Linked DNA regions of Homo sapiens: region 2 is linked to region 1. Evidence: promoter capture Hi-C in 16 types of primary human blood cells and fetal thymus (Javierre and others, 2016). All regions are on one chromosome and are shown on one strand. Each heading gives the region's core, a stretch centred on a gene start or on the middle of the fragment in contact. The rest is flanking DNA. Distances are from core to core; before and after follow the strand shown. Region 1 holds the start of RXFP4 (relaxin family peptide/INSL5 receptor 4). Region 2 overlaps DAP3 (death associated protein 3).

Region 1 (4,900 bases), core at 968-3,467:
GACAGAACGAGACTCTGTCTCAAACAAACAAACAAACAAACAAGAATAATAGCTAACAGTATATTTCACTGTTAAATCTTTAGTAGCCCATTTTACAGTTGAGAACAGTGAGGTACAAAGAGGTAAAGTAATTTGCTGGAGGTAAAGCTGTGAATCCAGGTGCTCTGACACTCAAATTGATACTCTGGGCTTTGCATTTGGGGCAGGGAGGACTAGCACCACTTTCTGAGGTCTCTGCTTTTCTGGCTCTACCTGCAGCCTGTTCTCCCAGCCCCCTCCCCTCTTTAATCGCTCACCTCCCTTCACCCCACCCATGTCTTTGACTTGTCATTATCTTCACTTCTTTCAAATCCTGATTTAAAGGGAGACACACAGGCACTCCCGTCAGCACCAGGGTTTTACACCCAGGGCCTGGCAGGTGCTGGAAATTCCAGCAATACCCCACACCTGGCATCCCTTCAAGGGAACTACAGCTTTTGCAGCTGAGGCCTCTGCAGGCAGCAAGTTTCAGTGGTCACCACTGAGATGGTAAGGTGAGGACAGGGGAAGCTGGCATTTTTGGCCTTGATACCGGAGAAAGACAAGGGATACCCTGTTTTGAGGTGGGGGGTGGGTACAGAGAGAGATGGGCACTGACCTCTGATTCATTAGCCTAGAACCCTTAGGGAAGTTTTCCTAGGTATTCTTGCAGAAAGCAGAAATGGAGCAACGAATCCTTTTGTTCCATACTGAACTGGAGGTGGAACTGGGATAAAAGGTCAAGACAATTTGTGGATAATCCAGAGGTTTATTCTCAGATCCTCTTCTTTCCCATCTCCAAATAAAGACTTAAGCTTTGTCACATCCAGCTCTGATCTGAGCCCCCGCCTCCCCCATTCACCACACCCAGAGTTGGGGATCAAAGATCAGACTTTTCCCTGAGGGCACTGCAGCCTGGCAGAGAGGGCAGCTTCTCCCCAGGACTCAAGGATCCTACACTTGGTGGATCTCAGAAAGAGGAGTGTGTTCAGCTTGCGCCCTTCACCCGGGTGTCCCTCTGTCCAGGTTGGTGAGCAGGGTAGAAGGGCGGCTCTCCCGGGGGTTGCTTGCGACCCACCGCCTGCCTACCTGCTTTAGGGCCACCTGTTGCACCCAGCCTCCGCCCTGGGGCCACAGCCTCAACCGCAGATCCCTGAAGGTGCCTGCCAGAGCCTGCCGGGGCTCCCGCCTCAGGAGACAGTACAGCACAGGGTTGAGGCAGCTATTGCTGTGTGCCAAGCAAGTAGTGACAGGGAAGACATACGTCTGGATAGTATAGAAAGTACTGTTCCAGGGCACCAGGTCAAACTTCACCAGGACACCCCAGAGAGTGACCACATGGTTGGGAAACCAGCAGAGGAAGAAGGAAGCCACCAGGATGCGGACAGAGCGGGCCACGACCCTGCTGTCCTGCCGCCGCCGTTGCCGCCGCTGCAGGAAGGCCAGCAGCAGCAGGTAGCTGGTGGTGATGACGCCCAAGGGCACCATGAAAGCCAGCACCACCCTCTGCAGCTGGTAGGCCCCCAGCCAGTACCTGCTGGGGAAACGCAGCAGGCAAAGGCGCACACCACACACCTCACCCTCCACCCCGAAGACAGCTGTGGGCACCGTCACCAGGGCAGCCGCCGCCCACACTGCCAGGGTGGCTATTCGGGCCCAGAAGAGTGAGAGGTGGGTGCCTGGCCCCGCAGCCATGGCCACCACCCAGTAGCGAGCAACGCTCAGCGCTGTGATGAGGAAGATGCTGGCATAGACGTTGAGGACAGTGGCCGTCAGAACCATCTTGCAGAGGGCACCTCCGAAGGGCCAGTGAAAGTCCAGTGCCGACTCGGCTGCCCAAAAGGGGAGAGTGAGTGCCAGTCCCAGGTCCGCCAGAGCCAGGTTGAAGACGAAGGTGTCTGAAGGTGGGCCAGGGGCTCTCCGGGCACAGTTACTCAGTACCCACAGCACCGCCAAATTTCCCAGCAAGCCAATGGCCCCCACAAGCCCATAGGCCAGGGCAACCATGAGCCTCAGGGCTAGGAATTTGACAGGCATCGGAGCATCATCAGCACTCAGCACACTGCCTCCGGAGGCATTGGCCCAGAAGAATGTGGGTGGAGAGGCAGAAGTATTGAGTGTGGGCATCGCAGGGCATCAGAGATTGGTGGTGCTGAGAAGAGAGGTCTGCAAGTGTCTGCCAGACTGGCAGAGGCCACTGAAGGCTCTAGGAAGGAGGCTGTAGAATTAAGTGCTTCTCTGGGGCCTCTGGTGAGCCCTGGCCCACGCCCACACCTCAGAGGGAGGGGTGTGGAAAGGACAACCCACCACCTTCCTGTTGGTCAAGATTGGTGGTAGGTGGGGCAGGGCGAGGCACAGCCTGAATGCCAGGGTATATGTGCATGCGCCCGCCTGTAAGAGGGGCTCTAAATGGCAGAGAGGGAGGGGAGAAGGGAGAGTTACCCCGCTATGGAGGGCAGCCCCAAGCCTCCACCCCAGGGAGAGAGCTGGAGGTTCCCTGTCCCAGAGATGACAGGAACCAAACTAGAGCTGCCTCTGTTCCTAACAGTGCAGAGGCCTCCCTCCTCTGCAGAAAGTGTTCCCTTGGGGCCCAAAGCAAGGGGCCTGGGAGGTGGCATAGAGGCAGGGAATCAGCATGGGTGTCCAAGAGAGGAAAGAGCGGAGGCTGCGGAGTCCCAGACCTGCTGCTCACTAGCCGTGTGACTGGGAGAGTTACTTTACTCCCCTAAGCCTGTTTTCTTGCTTAAAATTTTCAGGTAAGTCTGCTTCACAGGAGTGGCATGATGCAATGAGAGAACACATGTGAAATAGCAATTTGTATGAATATTATTTCAAAGGAGAAGTTTGGGGTGTTTGTGGCAGAAGGGTACTGAGAGGCTATTACCATGCCCAGGGAACAGTGCCAACTAAAACAGGTTGGAATTCATCTCAGCAGCAGTGACCTTGAGGCTAAGAGCAGGGAGGGAAAAGAGAGAGGAAGTCACAGCTTCCTGTTTCCTCCCCACTGGGAACACTGGGCCTATGAGGGCCTGTGTGGACCTGGGCATGCCCTCAGTTCTGTTCCTGCTCCTGATAATTAAACATTCCTGCTAACCTCTATCGCCGCCTTTCCCCCCTTTCCTGCTCTAGTCTGTGGACAGAGCTCAGCGGTCCCCCTACTCTCTCCTGCAAACCCCATGTCAGAGCTAAGGATCCTGAGATACGCCCTCACCACACCTCATCCTGTCTCCCCATGATCTCAATCATAACTGGAAAAAAAAAATGCTTCATTGGGCCCTCCCCTTTCATTGCCTACATCTCTACCTACTGCAGAAGGAGCTGAGGTGGGGACAAAGAGAAGGCAGGAGGTGGATAGGTAAAAGAGTAAGGCTTTCTCAAGGATTCCAATATATTCAGCCCCTTCTTGCCCTCTGCCAGCTAATTAAGATAACGTTCGATGTTCAGTTCCTTTGGAGTGCTGAGGGAAGAGAGGGGCCCTTTGCGACAATAAATCAGCAGTGGGCTTGTGAACACATAGGAGAAACCCAGAGGTGAGAGTGATACAGGCTGGGTGCCAACATGTTGGGGCTTTCGAACCAGGGATGAGTATAAAGGGGGTGGCAGAAGGGGAGTGCCCAGCCCAAGGTCAGGTGAGCCCCACAGGCTACCTTCTGGCCTCATGGCTGCTCCTGTGTGACTGTGTCATCACTGTCTCTCGGGGCCATGTCTACTCCTCTGCCCACCCAGAATCACCCTGCTAATCTGGCAATTAAGATAACTGCTTGGCCAGACGAGGTGGCTCATGCCTGTAATCCCAGCACTTTGGGAGGCCGAGGTGAGCGAATCACCTGAGGTCGGGAGTTCAAGACCAGCCTGACCAACATGGGGAAAGCCCGTCTCTACTAAAAATACAAAATTAGTGGCGCGTGGTGGCGAGTGCCTGTAATCACAGCTACTCGGGAGGCTGAGGCAGGAGAATCACTTGAACCCGGGAGGCAGAGATTTTGGTGAGCTGAGATCACACCACTGCACTCCAGCCTGGGCGACAGAGCGAGACTCCATCTCAAAAAAAAAAAAAAATTTTTTTTCTTTTTTTCTTTTTTTTTTGGTTGAGAAGAGGTCTCACTCTGTCACCCAGGCTGGAGTGCAGTGGCACAATCTTGGCTCAGTGCCTCGACCTCCCCAGGCTCAGGTGATCCTCCTACCTCAGCCACAGGAATGTGCTACCACACAGGCTAATTTTTGTATTTTTAGGAGAGATGGGGTATCCCTATGTTGCCCAGGATTGTCTTGAACTCCTGGGCTCAAGCAACCCTCTCACCTCACCCTCCCAAAGTGCTGGGATTACAGCCATAAGCCACCACGCCTAGCATCAAAAATATTCTTGAAATGACCTCAGGTGATCCTCCTGCCTTGGCCTCCCAAAGTGCTGGGATTACAGGCATGTCAGGAGATCGAGACCATCCTGGCTAACATGGTGAAACCCCATCTCTAAAAAAAAAAAATACAAAAATTAGCCGGGTGTGGTGGCAGGTGCCTGTAGTCCCAGCTACTCGGGAGGCTGAGGCAGGAGAATGGTATGAACCCGGGAGGTGGAGCTTGCAGTGAGCCGAGATCGTGCCACTGCACTCCAGCCTGGGCGACAGAGTGAGACTCCGTCTCAAAAAAAAAAAAAAAAAAAAATCAGCTGGTCATGGTGACACTTTGGGAGGCTGAGGCGAATGGATTGCTTGAGCCCAGTAATTCAAGACCAGTCTGGGCAACATGGCAAAACCCCATCTCTACAAAAGATAACAAAAAATTAGCCAGGCATGGTGGTTCATGCCTGTGGTTCCAGCTACTTGGTTCCAGCTACTCTACTAAAAATACAAAACAACAACAACAAAAAATTAGCTGGGCGTGG
Region 2 (4,900 bases), core at 261-2,760, 220 kb after region 1:
ACGCAGGCAGGAAAGGATACACAGAAGATATCGTATAGCTGGATAAGCAAAACTGGTGTTTTTCAGGTAATGCAGAAGTTCTAGGGCTGGTTTCCTTACCATCAGGCAAGCTTCACTGAATGTCTTCACCTGATAAAGTAGGAAAGAAGGAAAGAGTGGGTGGGTGTGGAAGGAGTGGGTGGGGGGTGGTATATATACTCTGCCTAAAGTGGCAACCAAGACCATCAGATTGCATGCCTCTAATTTACTCAGTTAGGAGAAGCTGGGTTGGTACTGAGTTTGAAAATCTATCCATATAACTTAGCTAAAAACTGAAATACATTATTCCGCACTAAGTAACATGATAGTCAGCTTTTGATTATTCCTATTACTGAAGCATATATTCTATCTCAGCTGAAATCTATAAATAATTGATATATCTCATAACAAAATTATGTATACCACTTAGGGCCACTGTAAATATGGAAAGCATATAGAAAAATGCTTAAAATTTCTGACACAAGTTAATAATTCAATAAACATTAACTCTTTAAATTTTTTTTCTTTTTTTTTTTTTGAGACGGAGTTTCACTCTTGTTGCCCAGGCTGGAGTGCAATGGCACGATCTCGGCTCACCACAACCTCTGCCTCCCAGTTCAAGTGATTCTCCTGCCTCAGCCTCCCGAGTAGCTGGGATTACAGGCACCCACCACCATGCCCGGCTATTTTGTATTTTTAGTACAGAAGGAGTTTCTCCATGTTGGTCAGGCTGGTCTCAAACTCCCGACCTCAGGTGACACCCCCGTCTTGGCCTCCCAAAGTGCAGGGATTACAGGCGTGAGCCACTGCACCTGGCCTAAAATTTATTTTTAGTTGATTTTTTTTTTTTTTCTTTTTTTGAGACAGAGTCTCACTCTGTCACCCAGGCTAGAGTGCAGTGGTGTGATCTCGGCTCACTGCAACCTCCGCCTCCGGGGTTCAAGCAATTCTTCTGCCTCAGTCTCCTCAGTAGCTGGGATTACAGGTGCCACCACCATGCCAGGCTGATTTTTGTAATTTTAGTAGAGACAGGCTTTCACCATGTTGGTCAGGCTGGTCTCGAACTCCTGACCTCATGATCCACCCGTCTCAGCCTCCCAAGGTGCTGGGATTATAGGCGTGAGCCACCGCACCTGGCCTAAAATTTATTTTTATTACTTTAACCATTTAGACTTTTTTCTCTAGAACTAAATACATGGCGGCTCAGGAGCAGGTGTGACCAGCTGCCTCACAACTCTAAGGCCATCCATACCTCATACCTCCAGCATACTAACCTTTCAGAGTTTAATTCCCCTTTTGCTACCAGAATACTTTGGTGGGAAATTTGGGAAGTACTAATGTGTGTGAAACTGATTTGCAAAGAAAATATTAAAATATGTCTACTAATAAGAATATCTAACAAATACTGTTTGTAAGTATAACTAAAATAGTGTTAATTTTTTTTTTTTTTTTTTGAGACAGAGTCTCGCTCTGTCGCACAGGCTGGAGTGCAGTGACACGATCTCAGCTCACTGCAACCTCCGCCTCCCGGGTTCAAGCGATTCTCCTGCTTCAGCCTCACAAGTAGCTGTGACTACAGGCGTGTGCCACCACGCCCAGCTAATTTTTGTATTTTTAGTAGAGATGGAGTTTCACCATGTTGGCCAGGCTCATCTTGAACTCCTGGCCTTAAGTAATCTGCCCACCTCAGCTTCCCAAAGTGCTGGAATTACAGGCGTGAGCCATTGTACCCAGCCAGTGTTGATATTTTTAAAAGAAATCCTAACAAAACAATTGAATTGGTGTAGGATTTGACAGGCAATTCCAAACTTAATGGAAGGCTCAATGTTCAAAAAAACATGATAAAGGTATTAAAACAAATGTTGGCTGGGCGTGGTGGCTCATCCCTGTAATCCCAGCACTTTGGGAGGCCAAGACAGGTGGATCACCTGAGGTTAGGAGTTGGAGACCAGCCTGGCCAATATGGCAAATCCCCATGTCTACTAAAAATATAAAAATTAGCCAGGCGTGGTGGCGAGCACCTGTAATCCCAGCTCTTTGGGAGGCTGAGGCAGGAGAATCACTTGAACCCAGGAGGCGTAGGTTGCAGTGAGCTGAGATCGCATCACTGCATTCCAGCCTGGGCGACAAAAGTGAAACTCCATTTCAAAAAAAAGTCACATCAGGGCTGGGAGCTGTGGCTCACACCTGTAATCCCAGCACTTTGAGATGCCAATACAGGAGGATCGCTTGAGCCCAGGAGGTCAGAGATGTAGAGTGTGCTGTGGGCTGTGGTCACGCCACTGTACTCCAGCCTGGTTGTCAGAGTGAGACCCTGTCTCTATAATTAAAATAATAGTAATAAAATAAAGTCAGCTACCCTGGGCACACTGTCCGTGAGTTAGGTCTGCTCCAAAAGGAGCAGTATTTAAAAAAAAAAAAGTCATATTAGGCAGTATGACAATGCTAATATCCACAAACAATGGTGAGGAAGTAGGCCTTCATGTAAATGAAAATTATGAAAAGAACCTGTAAGTTCTTACAGAGCATTGTTGGTTAAGCCAGTCTGAAAACAACTTCAAATAGTTAATTAAAGATAGAACCTCACAGCTCTGAAGCTGAATAAACATTGTACTGTGTATGTCTTGGAACAGTTTAAAGTGCCACTGCAGATGATTTCTTCAACAAAATTTTTTTTAATTAAAATTGTTTTTTGGAGACAGGGTCTCACTCTGTTGTCTGAGTTGGAGTGCCGTGGCACTATCGTAGCTCACTGCAGCCTGAACTCCTGGGCTCAAGCCATCCTCCTGCCTCAGCCTCCGAAGCAGCTACCACACATGACTAAATGTTTTTCTTTTTTTTTGAGTGAGCAGCAGCAAGATTTATTGAGAAGAGCAAAAGAACAAAGCTTCCACAGTGTGGAAGGGGACCCGAGAGGGTTGCCCATGTTTTTCTTTTCTAAATAAAGATACAGTCTCATTATATTGCCCAGCTGGTCTTGAACTCCTGCGCTCAAACAATCCTCCCACCTTCACCTCCCAAAGTGCTGAGACTACAGGCATAAACTACCTTGCCTGGCCTGTTATACCTTATTTTATTTTATGCTTGAGATAAGGTCTTGCTCTGTTGCCCAGGCTGGGGTACAGTGGTGCAATCATGGCTCACTGAAGCCCTCACCTCCTGAGCTCAAGCGATCCTCCAACCTCAGCCACCTGAGTAGCTGTGACTACAGGTGTGCATCATGCCCAGCTAATTTTTAATTTTTAATTTTTGTAGAGACAGGTCTCCCTATGTTGCCTAGACTGGTCTCGAACTCCTGGGCCCAAGTGATCCTTCCACCTTGGCCTCCCAAAGTGCAGCTGGGATTACAGGCGTGAGCCATAGCGCCCGGCCTGTTATGCCCTTATTATTCATCTAATTTCCCGAAATAAACCACACTAAAGAAATGAGATCCTCTGGCTCGCATGCTAAAACTCACCTGCACAGGCAAGTTTGATAACATTTTCACAAAATCCACAAGAGAATAAAAACCAATGCATCTAATCAAAATATTGCTTCTATTTAGCTCAGGAGTGTACTATGATTTTGCTTTTGTGCAGCATATTAACTATTTTCATGATATTTTGCCAAGGCAAATTTTAAGTTCATTTAAAACAGTTATTTGATGCTGAAATTACTGGAATCTTCTTGGGCTATACAAGGAGGAAAACATCAATATTGTTTAAACATGAGCTTAAAGTAATTGTACTAGTCACAAAAGGTAATCAACACATGAATTTCTGTTTTTCAGATTAAATTTCATCTTTTTAAATTTTCTTCTCATTTAGCCCCACCCCTTTGCTAGCAGCAGCTTGTATTCTGGGCTCCCTCCAATTCCATTCCCTGTCTTGAGCACCTGCATCACAAAGCGAGGAGGAAGGCCATGGGGAAATACAGTCTCCAAATCCTGGGGGGAGATGTTGTAGTGCTGACCCTCGTGCTGATCCCCATGCTTGGCCTAGGAAATAAGAGTGCAAACAGGTATAATGGTGACAAAGTGACCAAGACTTTCTTTTTTGTCTTATCTATGTGTGTGTATATATGTATGTCTATGTGTATATATATATATATATACATACATACATATATATATACACATACATACATATATATATACACATACATATATATATATTATTTTTAAAATGGAGTTTTACTTTTGTCACCCAGGCAGGAGTGCAATGGTGCGATCTTAGCTCACTGCAACCTCCGCCTCCTGGGTACAAGCAATTCTCCTACCTCAGCCTCCCAGTAGCTGGCATTACAATCTGCCACCGCACCCGGCTAATTTTTGTATTTCTAGTAGAGACGGGGTTTCACCATGTTGGCCAGGCTGGTCTTAAACTCCTGACCTCAGGTGATCTGCCTGCCTCAGCCTCCCAAAATGCTGCGATTACAGGGTGAGCCATCTTGCCCAGCCTTGTCTTCTTTTTTTTTTGAGACAGAGTCTCGCTCTGTCACCCAGGCTGGAGTGCAATGGTGTAATCTCGGCTCACTGCAACCCCCGCCTCCCAGGTTCAAGAGATTCTCCTGCCTCAGCCTCCCGAGCATCTGGGACTACAGGCACGCGCCACCACGCCCAGCTAATTTTTGTATTTTTAGTAGAGATGGGATTTCACCATGTTGACCAGGATGGTCTTGATCTCTTGACCTCGTGATCCGCTCACCTCGACCTCCCAAAGTGCTGGGATTACAGGCGTGAGCCACAGCGCCTAGCCCAGCCTTGTCTTTTTATCTGTGACCAAGACTTTGAAAATTGGATAAGGCCTGCTATTCACTCATGTCTTTATGTGTTTTTTTTGGTTTGTTTGTTTTGTTTTTTTTTTGAGATGGAGTTTCACTCTTGTTGCCCAGGCCGAAGTGT

The links. Contacts are between HindIII fragments. The CHiCAGO score rates a contact against its expected background, and 5 or more counts as called.
Region 2: a contact is called between a fragment that was not itself captured here and the fragment with the promoter of RXFP4 in region 1, in 1 of 17 cell types (megakaryocytes). The highest score is 5.6, in megakaryocytes.

Annotation. Positions count from the first base shown.
Region 1 is chr1:155,938,955-155,943,854 of GRCh38, reverse strand. It overlaps RXFP4 (relaxin family peptide/INSL5 receptor 4), which reads right to left and starts at 2,217. Exons shown (of 1, transcript NM_181885.3): 1 at 768-2,217. The coding sequence starts at 2,145. The coding sequence ends at 1,021. RefSeq lists an enhancer at 1,664-2,163 and a silencer at 2,483-2,777. The HindIII fragment of the contact is 9,136 bases long and covers 836-4,900 here.
Region 2 is chr1:155,720,611-155,725,510 of GRCh38, reverse strand. DAP3 (death associated protein 3) reads right to left here. Exons shown (of 13, transcript NM_004632.4): 4 at 3,893-3,994; 5 at 21-129. Among named protein-coding and RNA genes, the nearest start is that of DAP3, 34 kb to the right of the region's middle. The HindIII fragment of the contact is 2,795 bases long and covers 113-2,907 here.